Linked DNA regions of Homo sapiens: region 2 is linked to region 1. The links are contacts of gene promoters, found by promoter capture Hi-C in human tissues and cell types (Jung and others, 2019). All regions are on one chromosome and are shown on one strand. The core of a region is centred on a gene start or on the middle of the fragment in contact, and the rest is flanking DNA. Distances in the headings are between cores, read along the strand shown. Region 1 holds the start of CNBP (CCHC-type zinc finger nucleic acid binding protein). Region 2 has its middle 36 kb from the start of RAB7A.

What was found. Contacts are between HindIII fragments. The study calls those that stand out against the background at their distance.
Region 2: a contact is called between a fragment that was not itself captured here and the fragment with the promoter of CNBP in region 1, in 1 of the 25 tissues and cell types used here (spleen).

What each region holds. Positions count from the first base shown.
Region 1 is chr3:129,180,736-129,187,996 of GRCh38, reverse strand. CNBP (CCHC-type zinc finger nucleic acid binding protein) reads left to right here and starts at 4,101. Exons shown (of 5, transcript NM_003418.5): 1 at 4,101-4,221. LOC105374101 (a long non-coding RNA gene) reads right to left here and starts at 3,923. Exons shown (of 2, transcript XR_924469.3): 1 at 3,525-3,923. RefSeq lists an enhancer at 3,678-3,767. The HindIII fragment of the contact is 21,375 bases long and covers 1-7,261 here.
Region 2 is chr3:128,686,628-128,693,888 of GRCh38, reverse strand. No RefSeq gene overlaps it. Among named protein-coding and RNA genes, the nearest start is that of RAB7A, 36 kb to the left of the region's middle. The HindIII fragment of the contact is 7,361 bases long and covers 1-6,737 here.

The sequences.
Region 1 (7,261 bases), core at 2,852-5,351:
TTCTGACCTTGAGCAGATTACTTAAACTCTCTCGACCTGTTTCTTCATGGGGATAATACAAGTACTTCTAGGGGGTTTGTGAAAACTCATAAAGAGGTTAAAAACATTGCCTGGCATACAGTAAGCACCCAATAAGAATAAGAAATAATATTTGTATAGTAATTATGCCAGAAACTGTTATAAGAGCTGTATATATATTAACAATTAGCTATTACTAGTATTACTAATTCCTAGTTCAGGATTTAGCTTAGTAAACTTTCTGCTTCAGAAGCAAATACGAGAGGTGAAAACATCAATTTATTCTCCTCAGTCTTAGTTACATACTTTCCAAGTCAAGTCACAGAGCACAATTTCCTTGCTGGCAGGGACAAGACATGGGTTTACATGATATCACCTATCCCCTCAATTTAACAGCATGTACTATGCAGTTGGGCATTTAAGCAGAAATTAAGAGTTGGCAGGTATTGCTCAACTGGTACCCATTTTAGGAATAATGCTGAATCATAGCATTTTATCTGGTCTTCTCTCAGGATACTTAATGCTAATTTTTTGTATTTTTAGTAGAGACGGGATTTCACCTTGTTAGCCAGGATGGTCTCGATCTCCTGACCTCATGACCCATCTGCCTCGGCCCCCCAAAGTGCTGGGATTATAGGCGTGATCCACCGTGCCCGGACTTTTTTTTTTTTTTTTTTTTTGAGACAGAGTCTCCCTCTGTTGTGCAGGCTGGAGTGCAGTGGCCCAATCTCTTGCTCCCAGGTGCAAGCGATTCTCCTGCCTCAGCTTCCCAAGTAGCTGGGATTACAGGTGCCCACCACCACACTCGGCTAATTTTTGTGTTATTAGTAGAGACAAGTTTTCACTATGTTGCCCAGGCTGCTCTCAAACTCCTGACCTCAGGTGATCCACCTACCTCGGCCTCCCAAGTGCTGGGAAGTTGTTTTTTTTTTCTTTTCTTTTTTTGAGACTGAGTCTTGCTCCGTCACCCAGGCTGGAGTGCAGTGGCGTGATCTCGGCTCACTGCAAGCTCTGCCTCTCAGGTTCAAACGATTCTCCTGCCTCAACCTCTCGAGTAGCTTGGACTATAGGTCCCCGCCACCACGACCAGCTAATTTTTTGTATTTTTAGTAGACAGGATTTCACCGTGTTAGCCAGGATGGTCTTGATCAGCTGACCTCGTGATCCGCCCGCCTCGGCCTCCCAAAGTGCTGGATTACAGGCGTGAGCCACCGAACCCAGCCGACACTTAATACTTTCTTATGGCCCTTGTTATCCTGCAAGTTCTTCAAGGGCAAACTCTGTGTCTTAAGTAGTCACCTTTGTAACCCTTGCAATGCTGAGCATGAGACTGAACACTGGAGGAGAGGAGGGGAATAAAACATCTCCAGGGAAGAGGAATGTAATGGGAGCCTCTTCAAGTCCCACTGGCAGCTTATCTTTTGAGTGAGCTTTTTCCTATTTTCAAACATTTCTAGTAAAATAGGCATACCAAAGGGTATATCCAGGCAATACAAGCCATTGTAGTTAAATTCCACCATACACCTTTTCTGGCGCCTCACGATCAGCCTGGCTCTATTAATAATAGTCGTTACAGGAAGCTGCATGCCAGGTAGAAAGAGCCATTAGCTGTTACCACTCCACTGCCAAGAAGTAAAGACATTGTTTCCATTTCTTCTACTTAAGTCTTTTAAAACCTATAGAACATTATGTCCAGTATCTCTATCTCACACTCACTTTCATTTTCTATAGCTGTTGAAATTTTTGTTTTAATATTAGGAATATTCCATTCCTGGGTCTATAATGAATAGCAAACATTTTATACAGTACTATGGTTGGAATGGTAAACAAAAATAAGTCAGAAAATATTAATTTTTGGCCATATGGTAATTTTAACTTGTCCTCTTGGTGTGGTGTGGACGCACCCAGGTTGGACTTCATACATAGCCTCTTGCATTATATTGACTCATTGTCAGAGCTCACGAAGTCACTACCTAAGTGTCTGATTGCTACACTATACATTACTTCAAGATACTATGAAGGTTAATCAGATTACAAAGGGGAAATCATAAAGCTGAGTAAGCTTCTTGGTAATAAAACTATATAAATACAAAATACTGTTTTTTATTGGCAGATAATATATCGTGTTTTAGCACAACACATAAGCTGCTAGGCATTTATTCAATCTGATTGGGAATGGGTTAAATTTGGTTAAAAAATTTTACCTTAGGTTGCTTTAATTAAAAAAATGTTTAAGGCTGAGTGCAGTGGCTCACACCTGTAATCCTAGCACTTTGGGGGCACTGGGTGCAGTGGCTCACACCTGTAATCCTAGCACTTTGGCCTAGCACCGCTTGAGGCCAGGAGTTCAAGACCAGCCTGGCCAACATGATGAAACCCCATCTCTACTAAAAATACAAAAATTAGCCAGGCGTGGTGGTGGGCGCCTGCAGTCCCAGCTACTCAGGAGGCTGAGGCAGAATTGGTCAAACATGGGAAGCGGAGGTTGCAGTGAGCTGAGACAGCACTCCAGCCTGGGCAACAGAGGGAGACCCTGTCTCAAAAAATAGTAATAAATAAATTTAAAAAGTTCGGCCAGGCGCGGTGGCTCATGCCTGTAATCCCAGTGCTTTGGGAGGACGATCACCACTTTGGGTGGGCGGATCACCTGAGGTCGGGAGTTTGAGACCAGCCTGACCAACATGGAGAAACCCCGCCTATACTAAAAATACAAAATTAGCCGGGCGTGGTGGCGCATGCCTATAATCCCAGCTACTGGGGAGGCTGAGGCAGGAGAATCACTTGAATCCAGGAGGCGGAGGTTGCAGTGAGCTGAGATCGTGCCATTGCACTCCAGCCTGGGCAACGGAGTGAGACTCCGTTCTCAAAAAAAAAAAAAAGTTTAAAATATCATTGGTCTTTAAAGTTATACATTCATTCTTTGATAATTGCTATGTTGAACGCAACCTCCTAACTGCTTTACAATGATTAAGCACTAATGATTTGAACCCAGGTTTAAAGTCTGACTCTCAACACATGTGCTCTGCCTTCTCACGAACATGATTTCAAAAATCATAGCCCCGGGATTTGGGATTGGTGGCTTATGCCTGTAAACCCAGCGACAGAGCAAGACCCTACTCTTAAAAAAAAAAAAAATTAAAGAAAAAAAGAAAAATAAATCATAGTGTTGAACTGGCAGGTTTCACTGAGACGAAACTTGGGACTCTTCCTTTTTTTTTGTTTCGAATAAAGCCATTCTAGAATGAGACAAAATTCTAAAATATTTTATAGTTAACAGTTTAAATTGGGTTTAATCTTGACAAGACTATCTAGGGCTATATACACAAATCTCTTTTGGAGAAAATACCACAACTAAACTGAAGTCTATTCCTGAATATGACAGACCAGGTCAAATGGTTATCCTTGCCCTCCCGGGGGATGTCACTCATAAACGTGCCAAAAGTCACAGTCTAGGCCCCATTACCTTACATGCTCATGACCTTCCCAGGGAGGCCCCTCGCCCTTACCAGGCACTTTCATCTTGGGAAGACACATCAGTCCTGGCGGAGAAAGCAGCAAGGCCTTTCCCCGGCTCACAAAAATTAATACAAATCTCAGAGGCTGCATCCCACAGCCGTGACCACCGTGACTTGGCATCCCCTTTTCTGCAAACTTAAATGTTATCTAGAAATCGGGCCTGGCTCTGAAAGCCAAGGGCCTGGCAGGAGCCCGAGAAAGGGGAGAAACTTTCTGCGGCCCCAAGCTAATGGCAGTCACTGCACCGAGACCCGTCCCCTGGCATCCCTTTGCTCCAGCTGGCCAAGACAGACCACCAAGGTCAGCCAGATTTCCACCCAGTCTGGCCGGGCCCGGACCCAGCTGGGAATGAACCGAGAAGCACCGGGACCCGGATCCCGGCGTGAAAGGCCGCGCGCGGGGCACGGCGGGAAAAGACGCTGCGCGCAGAAACACCCGCCCCGCGCCGCGCTCTAGTGGGCGGCCCTGCCGCGGGCGGCTCTGATTGGACTGCCGAACCCCGCGCGCTGATTGGCCGCGTGGGCGAGGCGGAGGAGAGCCGTGCGCAGCGGCGTATGTGGGGCCGTGTGCAGACCCGCGTGTGGCGCAGGCAAGGACCCTCAAAATAAACAGCCTCTACCTTGCGAGCCGTCTTCCCCAGGCCTGCGTCCGAGTCTCCGCCGCTGCGGGCCCGCTCCGACGCGGAAGGTGAGGGCTGGGGGAGGGGCCCGGCGCTGACGGAGCCGCAGTGCGGGTCGGGTCTGTGGCGGACAGAGAGGGTAGGGAGCGGCGAGGTGGCGATGGCGGCCGCACTTTGGCCTGCGCCTCTGCTGCGTCAGGCGGGAAGCTCGGCTGCTGCCGCCGCCTCGGACCCGGGTTTCTGGCGCACCGCTGTCGGACGACACTTCTGTCCTTTCTTCGTCCTGGAAAGCTGGGTCGCCGAGCATGCGGGTCTTTCGGCGCCACGGCCGCACCCCAGGCCGCAGGCTTAGGGCAGAGGAGGCCCGCCCGTGCGCCCTTGGGGCCGAGGCCCTGACGCTTCGAGGGTCGCGGAATGAGGGACCGAGGGTGGATTTGGCGGGAACTCACTGGAAGGAGTCCGTGTGGTGGGGAAAGGCTCCCGGCTGCGGATGAAGGGGGGATGGGGTGGGTATAGTCGTGCAGGCCATGTGCTGGGGTCGTGCGCCTGGCGGGCCATGTGCCAAGGGTTTTGGGGGCCTTAGAAAAGGGTTCTTAGGCCGGGCGCGGTGGCTCACGCCTGTAATCCCAGCACTTTGAGAGTCCCAGGCGGGCGGATCACGAGGTCAGGAGTTCGAGACCAGCCTGACCAATATGGTGAAAGTTGGTCTGTACTAAAAATAAAAAATTAGCCGGGCATGGTGGCGGGCGCATGTAGTCCCAGCAGCTCGGGAGGCTGGACAGGAGAATCGCGTGAACCCCGGAGGCCGAGGTTGTGGTGAGCCGAGATCGCGCCACTACACTCCAGCATGGGCAACAGAGAGAGACTCCGTCTTAAAAAAACAAACAAACAAACAAACAAACAACAACAAAGGGTTCCTGAAGAAGCCTTTGTGTTTGGAGTGGCGAGACTGCTGGAAGACTTGGGAGCTTTTAGAGTTTATACTCCCTATCCTTGATAGTTTTCCGATTCTTGAATTTTTATCGTCATTTAAATACTAAGTTGCTTGTGTTACATTACCATTCCAAAAGGGGCTGATGGGGCTCACATTCCAAGAGTTAACACTATTTAAGTTGCTGGGATCCTTTAAAAGCGCCATTACCAGAAAAAACACGAATTTGTCAAACCTCCAAAACCACAGCAGCGGGCGGTAGTCTGCATCATTTCTTGGATTAATGAAACAGATGTAATTACAAACGAGACACGAAATTCAACTAGCTCCCCTCCATCTAGATTTTTCCATATCGTGAGAACCTGTTTTAGAATGGCATAATGGTCCACATTTGGGTTTAGGTGTTGATTTTATTATGGGTAAGGCTTGTGCTTGTTCCCACATGTTAACCATATGGCCTCAGCCACAGGGCACTTCCAAAGGAAGTGACTGTTTCTGGTCTTGGGGGTCTTGTAAAAAGAGAACATTGCTCAGTAATCGTCTGTGATTTTAGCTAGTGTGTTTCAGGCATTATTCAGAAGGACTCAGGTGAGATAAGCCAAAACTGAATTTGTTTTTTGTCTTTCTCAAAGTGAAGGAGGTCTAATGAATATCCCCATCTTGCTTTTAAATTACATTTTTAAAAGTAGATTTTTCCCCCTTTCCTATTGTTTGACCCAATTTTGGAGTGAAACGTAACCAGTTACTATTTCCATTCGAATTTAAATTAGCAATTTTATGTTATTTGTTTGTTCAAGCAGTATAACTGGAGTGTAGAGCTTTGAGGGTTTCAAAAAGATAAGAGATATAGTACTTATCTCCTGGGCTTCCCCCTCCCCCCTCCTAAATAGTTTTAAATGCTTCTAATGAGTTACTCTGGTTAAGGATAATCAAACACCTGTAAACTGCCAGGATCCTAGGTACATGCTGTTTTTAGTTTGTTGAGCCTGATTCTTGTCTACAAGAGTTCTTTGTGTATTGGAATATAAAAGGAATAATTTATTACATTCCCAAGGGCAGAATTAAAGACTTAAGTTTTTCCGATTTCATCTCTTGATAAGTTTTTCTTTAAAAAAATAACAGTTTGTGTTTTTCTGAGGAACCAAAGGTCCTCTTTTTTTTCATATTGGTAACAGGAGAGGTAATGTATTTCAGATGGTGCAGTCTGTAAAATATTTTGAACCAAATCAGTGGAAGACCAGGGGTTTTTCTTTTTTTTTTTCTGAGACGGAGTCTCACTCTGTCGCCCAAGCTGGAGTGCAGTGGCGCGATCTCGGCTCACTGCGACCTCCGCCTCCCGGATTAAGCGATTCTCCTGCCTCAGCCTCCGAAGTAGCTGGGATTACAGGCGCCCGCCGCCACACCCAGCTAGTTTTTGTATTTTAGTACAGACGGGGTTTCACCATGTTGGCCAGGCTGGTCTCGAACTCCTGACCTTGTGATCCGACTCCCTCGGCCTCTCAAAGTGCTAGGATTACAGGCAGGAGCCACCGCGCCTGGCCAGGTTTTTCTTAAACTGGCATTTGAACATCTGGAACAGGCAGGGAGATGTCTTTTTTAAAGTATAAATGTGTTTTGTTACATGATTTATGACAATTCTACTTGTCTTTTTTTTTTTTTTTTTTTTTTTTTTTGAGACAGAGTCTTTCTCTGTCGGCCAGGCTGGAATGCAGTGGCACAGTCTCGGCTCACAGCAGCCTCCATCTCCCGGGCTCAAGCAATTCTCCTGCCTCAGCCTCCCAAGTAGCTGGGATTACAGGCGTGTGCCACCACGCCCGGCTAATTTTTGTATTTTTTGTAGAGACGGGGTTTCACCATGTTGGCCAGGCTGGTCTTGATCTCCTGACCTCAGGTAATTCACCCGCCTCGGCCTCCCAAAGTGCTGGGATTACAGGCCTGAGCCACCGTGCCTTGCCAACAATTCTACTTGTCTTTTAAAGTTCAATAAAAATATGTGGCACGTATATGGGATAGTACCAAACTGGTGCCTAAAAGCAGTGAAACCACCATTGGACTAATTGGAATGATTTGTCTATTGGCTGAAGATTTGACCACAGAGAGATTCTGCTTTTTTTTCCTTGCAGGGATGAAAAATTAAAAAAAAAAAAAAAGATTGGTTCCTTTTTCTCTTCCTAGCC
Region 2 (7,261 bases), core at 1,808-4,307, 490 kb after region 1:
TGGGTGACAGGAGCGGAGCTCTTTTGTTCTAATGAGGGAACTCTTGGCAGATCCCTGATATCCTCAGGATTGGAGCTGGTTGACAAGGGAACCAACCTGTGATTAGATGGTTGGAACTTTCAGCAGCCCCCTGACTTTGGGGAGGAGAGAGAAGCTGAAGGCTGAGTTGATCACCAAAGGCCAATGATTTAGTCAGTTGTGTAGGTCATGAAGCCTCCCTAAAAACCCAAAAGGACAGGGTTCAGAAGAGCTTCCCAACAGCTGAGCACAGGCAGATTCCTGGAGAGGGGCATGCCTAGAGAAGGCATAGAAACTCTGTGCATCTTCCCCACACCTCTTCCTGGGCATCTCGTCCATCTGGCTGTTCATCTGTTTTTTTGTTTGTTTGTTTGCTTGCTTGTGACAGAGTCTCACTCTGTTGCCCAGGCTGCAGTGCAGTGGCACAATTTTGCCTCACCACAACCCCTACCTCCCAGGTTCAAGCGATTCTCATGCCTCAGCCTCCTGAGTAGCTGGGACTACAGGCACATGCCACCATGCCCAGCTAATTTTTATGTTTTTAGTAGAGACGGGGTTTTGCCATGTTGGCCAGGCTGATCTCCAACTCCTGACCTCAGGTGATCTGCCTGCCTCGCTCAGCCTCCCAAAGTGCTGGGATTACAGTGTTCATCTGTATTCTTTGTAATATCCTTTATAAGAAACCAGTATACATCAGTAAGTGGTTCCCTGAGTCTTGTGAGCCACACTAGCCAATTAAATAAATCCTGGGAGCCCCAGTTTATAGCCAATTGGTCAGAAGCACAGACCACGACCCGTGCTTGCAGCATCTGAAGTGGGGGGCAGCCTTGTGGGACTAGAGCCCTCAACCTGTGGGATCTGACACTATCTCCAGGTAGATGGTGTCAGAACTGAACTGGAGGACACCCAGCTGATGTCTACTGGGGAATCCGCAGAATCGATGTTTGGTGTGTGGGGAAATAACCCCCGCATATCTGCTGTTGGCAGTGTTGAGTGACTGGGTAAGAGTAGGAAAAATCACTTAGGTTTGTTCCTCTATCTCACACAGATATTAAGTATGTTCAGATTGCTGTGCAACCCTTGCTTATTTTGAAAATGGGTTTTCTGTTGTTGAGTTTTAGGAGTTCTGCATGCATTCTGGATATTAATCTCTTATCAGATATATGATTCACAAATATTTTCTCCTATTCTGTGTGTTGTGTCAAAAACACAATTTCAACACATTGAGTTTTAAAGATTTGGCTAGATGTGGTATCTCATGCTTGTAATCTCCTTACTTTGGGAGGCCGGGGTGGGGGGATCACCAGAGCCTAGGAGTTTAAGGTTACAGTGAGCTAGGATTGCACTACTGCACTGTAGCCTGGGTGACAGAGCAAGACACTGTCTGTAAAAAAAATAAAGATCTAATTAGCTTTTATTGGTGATTCATGAACTGAGCAACATCCAGCCTACAAAATAGACAGGAGCTCTACCAGGCATGGCAGAGCAGTAGGTTTTTCTAAGGCAGGCAGCTTGACCAGGAACAAGGAAACAGCATAGTGGAAAAAGTGGATTGGTTGGCTGGGCGCGGTGGCTCATGCCTGTAATCCCAGCACTTTGGGAGGCCAAGGAGGGCAGATCACGAGGTCAGGAGATCGAGACCATCCTGGCTAACATGGTGAAACCCCGTCTCTACTAAAAATACAAAAAAAATGAGCCGGGCTTGGTGGCGGGCGCCTGTAGTCCCAGCTACTTGGGAGGCTGAGGCAGGAGAATGGCGTGAACCCGGAAGGCGGAGGTTGCAGTGAGCCGAGATTGCGCCACTGCACTCCAGCCTGGGCTACAGAGCGAGACTCCATCTCAAAAAAAAAAAAAAAGTGGATTGGTTAACATTAGGTTCCTTCGGGTTACTTTCCTTGCATGGCTTAAAGCAGAGGGGACTTCCTTATCAAGCAGCTTAGGTTGAATGGGCCCCTTTTGATTGGTTGCTGTGAATCTATTTTTTTGTAAAACTGACCTATTGGGGATTTGACTGTTGCCTCTCTCCTGATTTCTCAGAAGGTCAGATTTTTTTTTTTTTTTTTAGACAAGAGTTTTGCTCTGTTGCGCAGGCTGGAGTCCAGTGGCACGATCTCAGCTCACGGCAACGTTTGCCTCCTGGGTTCATGCAATTCTCCTGCCTCAGCCTCCCAAGTAGCTGGGATTACAGACATGCACTACCACACCCAGCTAATTTTTGTATTTTTAGTAGAGATGGGGTTTCACCATGTTGGTCAGGCTGGTCTCGAACTCCTGACCTCAAGTGATCCACCCGCCTCGGCCTCCCAAAGTGCTGGGATTACAGGCGTGAGCCACCACGCCCAGCCCTAAGGTCAGATCTTATAAGCAAACAGCTTAGGTTTCAGTTTGGTGACATGGAACCTTAGCATGAGTGACTCCATTTTGGGTCAGCCTGTAGGGGCCTAGTGTAGGAGGAGCTCAGTACAAATCAATGGCCTCCATTTGGCCAGGCACTGTGGCTCACACCTGTAATTCTAGCACTTTCAGGGGCCGAGGTGGGAGGATCCCTTGAGCTCAGGAGTTCAACAATAGCCTGGGCAGTATGATGAAACCTCTTCTCTACAAAAAAATAGTAGTCCCAATTACCGGGGAGGATGAAGTGGTAAGATCGCTTGAGCCCAGGAGGTCAAGACTGCAGTAAGTCATGATGGCATCGCTACACGCCAGCCTGGGCAACAGAGTGAGACCGTGTCTCATAAAACAAACAAACAAAAAAACCAAATCAATGGCCTCCCATAAATATACCAGAACCCTTTGTTTTTCTTTGATGCTGTTCAGGCTCAGAAAATGATACCCCAAAGTATGCTGCTTTAGCATGCTGAGTGCTTTGAACTAAAGGAGACTGAAAGGTTCCAGAAGCAAAGTCTCTCTCTGACCTTCTCCTGCCCTCCTATCTCCCATCCCTCTTTCTCCACTGAAGTGAGAATCAGAACCCTTCTTCCCAAGGCAGGTTGTAGTAACTAGAATCCCACTCCCCCAGAGCTAGCCACAAAACCTAGAAAAGTTACTCTGTCTAGGCTGGGCACGGTGGCTCATTCCTGTAATCCCAGCACTTTGGGAGGCCGAGATGGGCGGATCACCTGAAGTCAGGAGTTCGACACCACCCTGGCCAACATGGTGAAACCCCGTCTCTACTAAAAATACAAAAAAAAAAAAAAAAAAAAAAAGTTGGGCGTGGTGGCACACGCCTGTAGTCCCAGCTACTCAGGAGGCTGAGGCAGGGGAGGTTGAGGCAGGAGAATTGCTTGAACCCAGGAGGCAGAGGTTGCAGTGAGCTGAGATTATGCCACTGCACTCCAGCCTAGATGACAGAACAAGACTGTCTCAAAAAAAAAAAAAAAAGAAAGAAAAAAAAAGCGAGGTTACTCTCCTCTTCTCCCTTGAAGACCCTCATTCCAGAAGAGTCCTGCCGATACCTAGGGCAAAGAAATGCTACACTGAGAGACCAAGAAGAATTTGAACCTTACTGGGTTTCTTCCCCTCAGTGTATTACTATTAGATCACACCCTTTTTGTCCAATCATATTTCTACATGGCTGTCCATTCTTCATTCAACCTAAGCATACAAATAGTTTTCCCTTGGTCTTTAGGTCTTCATTTCCAGAAGCTCCTGTATTGTGTAAAATGTTGTAAATAAGTTTGTTATTATTTTCTCTTGTAATTCTGTCTTTTGTCATAGGCATGTTGGCCATGACCTTTATGATTGGTGAGGAAATGTATCAAAGCTTTCCAACCCTTCAATGCACAAAAGTTAATTTCAATGAGGTCTAATTTGTCTTTTTTTTTGAGACAGAGTCTCACTCTGTAGCCCAAGCTGGAGTGCAGTGATGCAATCTTGGCTCACTGCAACCTCCTCCTCCAGAGCTCAAGCGATTCTCGCCTTGGCCTCCTAAGTAGCTGGGACTACAGGAGCACGCCACCATTCCCAGCTAATTTTTCTGTATTTTTAGTAGAGATGGGGTTTCACCATGTTGCCATGGGTGGTCTCGAACTCCTGAGCCCAGGTGATTCACCCGCCTCAGCCTCCCAAAGTGCGTGAGCCACCACACCCGGCCCCAGTTTGTCTATTTTTCTTTTGTTGCCTGTGCCTGTGGTGTCATAGCCACAAAATCATCACCAAATCCAAAATCATGAAGCTTTCCCTCCATCCTTGCTTCTAAGATTTTTATAGTTTTAGCTCTTATATTTTTTTTTTTTCAGGCGGAGTCTTGCTCTGCTGCCCAGGCTGGAGTGCAGTGGCGCGATTTTGGCTCACTGCAACCTCGGCCTCCTGGGTTCAAGCGATTCTCCTGCCTCAGCCTCCCGAGTAGCTGGGATTATAGGCGCACATCACAACACCTGGCTATTTTTTTTCAGTAGAGACAGAGTTTCACCATGTTGGCCAGGCTGGTCTTGAACTCCTGACCTCAGGTGATCCACCGGCCTCGGCCTCCCATAGTGCTGGGATTACAGGCGTGAACCACCACGCCTAGCCAGCTCTTACTTTTATGTCTTTGAGAGTGTATTGTGTAGTGAAAACACCCTGTAAACCACATCTTTCCTCTACTCTCACATGACAACAATCATCAACATCAAGACTTCTGTGGCCAAATGTGTAGGGGGTTTTCCCCACACATCAAGCAGTGGACACCAGGTAGGTGTCCTCTAATTCAGTTCCGACACTATCTGATAGTGTCAGATCTCACAGGTTGATTGCTCATTCTCCAAGACCACCCTCTCCCCCAACACCAGTGGCAAGTCCAGACCAGAACTCCAGAATCTTTTTTTTTTTTTGAGATGGAGTCTTGCTCTGTCACCCAGGCTGGAGTGTGCAGTGGTGTGATCTCAGCTCACTGCAATCTCCGCCTCCCAGGTTCACGCTGTTCTCCTGCCTCAGCCTCCCGAGTAGCTGGAATTACAGGCGCCTGCCACCACGCCTGGCTAATTTTTGTATTTTTAGTAGAGACGGGGTTTCACCATGTTGGCCAGACTGGTCTCGATCTCCTGACCTCGTGATCTGTCCGCCTTGGCCTCCCAAAGTGCTGGGATTAGAGGTGTGAACCACCGCGCCCGGCCTATCTTGGATTTTTATGGAAGCTTCTTGCCATCAGCATTCCTTCCTCCTTCAGAGTATATATAAGGTGGGACCTTCTCATGGGAGGGTCTGAAGACCCACAATCAGAGAGGTGGAGAACATTAGAGTGGAAGGAGGGCAGGAGAAGGTCAGAGGCCTGCTGTGAGGCCTAACATACCCAGCATTGTAACAAAAGACTGTAACAAACGCTATAGAGTATGCGCCAGGAAACGTGGATCAGTATACATCAAAACACCACATATGTAGATTTTATAACTTATTTGAGTGGTCTTTAAGAAACCTAAATCCAGATATGTCACCCTCTGCTGAGAAGTTTGAAGTTTCTCATCTTTTAAAAATCACTATCCAGGCCAGGCGCAGTGGCTCACGCCTGTAATTCCAATGATTTAGGAGGCTGAGGTGGGAAGACTGTGTAAGCCCAGGAGTTGGAGACCAGCCTGGGCAACATAGTATGACCTCATCTCTAAAAAAAATTAAAACTAAATTTTAAAAAATCACTATCTTGGCCAGGCCTGGTGGCTCATGCCTATAATCCCAGCACTCTGGGAGGCTGACTGGGGCAGATCGCTTGAGCCGAGTTTGAGACCAGCCTGGGCAACATGGTGAAACCCCATCTCTTACTAAAAATACAGGCTGGGCGCAGTGGCTCATACCTGTAATCCCAGCACTTTGGGAGGCCGAGGCGGGTGGATCACAAGGTCAGGAGTTTGAGACCAGCCTGGACAATATGGCGAAACTGTCTCTACTACAAATACAAAAATTAGCTGGGCGTGGTGGCGTGCACCTGTAGTCCCAGCTACTCGGGAGGCTGAGGCAGAAGAATCTTTTGAACTCAGGAGGTGGAGGCTGCAGTGAGCCGAGATCGTGCCATGGCACTCCAGCCTGGGTGACAAAGCGAGAATCTGTCTCAAAAAAAAACAAAAACAAAAACAAAAACATACAAAAAGAATTATCTGGGTATGATGGCACACGCCTGTAGTCTCAGCTACTCAGGAGGCTGAGGTAGGACTGCTTGAGCCTTGGAATCAGAGATTGCAATGAGCCAAGATTGCACCACTGCACTCCAGCCTAGGGCAAATATAGGCCCTGTCTCATAAAAACAAAAAAACAAAACAAAAAACCACTATCTTTTAAAATTATGTATTTATTTTTTCATTTTCCCCCCAAGTAACCTTTATTTTACTTAAATAAATCACTCTCTTTATCCTAGCATACGGGGCTCTACATGATCTAGTTCATACGCCTTCTTTGATTTCATTCAATTTTAGGCATCTGGCCTCATCATGCTCTTCTTCAACCATACCAAGCACATTCCCATGTCGAGGAATTTATACTTGTTCTTTCTGCCAGAAGCACTCTTCTCTTGGGGTCCCAGATCAAGTATCACCAACTCAATGAGGTCTTTTCTGACCATCTTCTCTAAAGTATCAACTGCATCTCTATCCCCTTATCCTGATTTTGTCTTCTTCTTAACATTTACTACCACTTGACGTATTTGTTTGTTCATTGTGTCACCCCAGGAAAATGTAAACTCTGGGAAGGCAAAGATTTTGTTTTGTTTTAAGACAGGGTCTCACTCTGTCACCCTGGCTGGACTGCATTGACTCAATCACGGCTCACTACAGCCTCAACTTCCTAGGCTCAAGCAATCCTTCCACCACAGCTTCCTGAGTAGCTGGGACTATAGGCATGCACCACTGCACCCAGCTAATTTTTTTTCTCTCTTTTGTTTTTTGAGATGGAGTCTCGCTCTGTCACCAGGCTGGAGTGCAGTGGCACGATCTCGGCTCACTGCTACCTCCGCCTCCTGGGTTCAAGCAATTCTCCTGTCTCAGCCTCCGGAGTAGCTGGGACTATAGGCGCGCACCACCATGCCCAGCTAATTTTTGTATTTTTAGGAGAGATAGGGTTTCACCATGTTGGCCAGGATGGCCTCGATCTCTTGACCTCGTGATCCGCCCGCCTCAGCCTCCCTAAGTGCTGTGATTACAGGCGTGAGCCACCACGCCCAGCAATTTTTTTTCTTTGTAAAAAAATATGATAGAGATAGGGTTTCACTCTGTTGCCCAGTTAAACTGCGGTGATGCAATCATAGCTTACTGCAGGTTCAAACTCCTGGGTTCAAGGATCC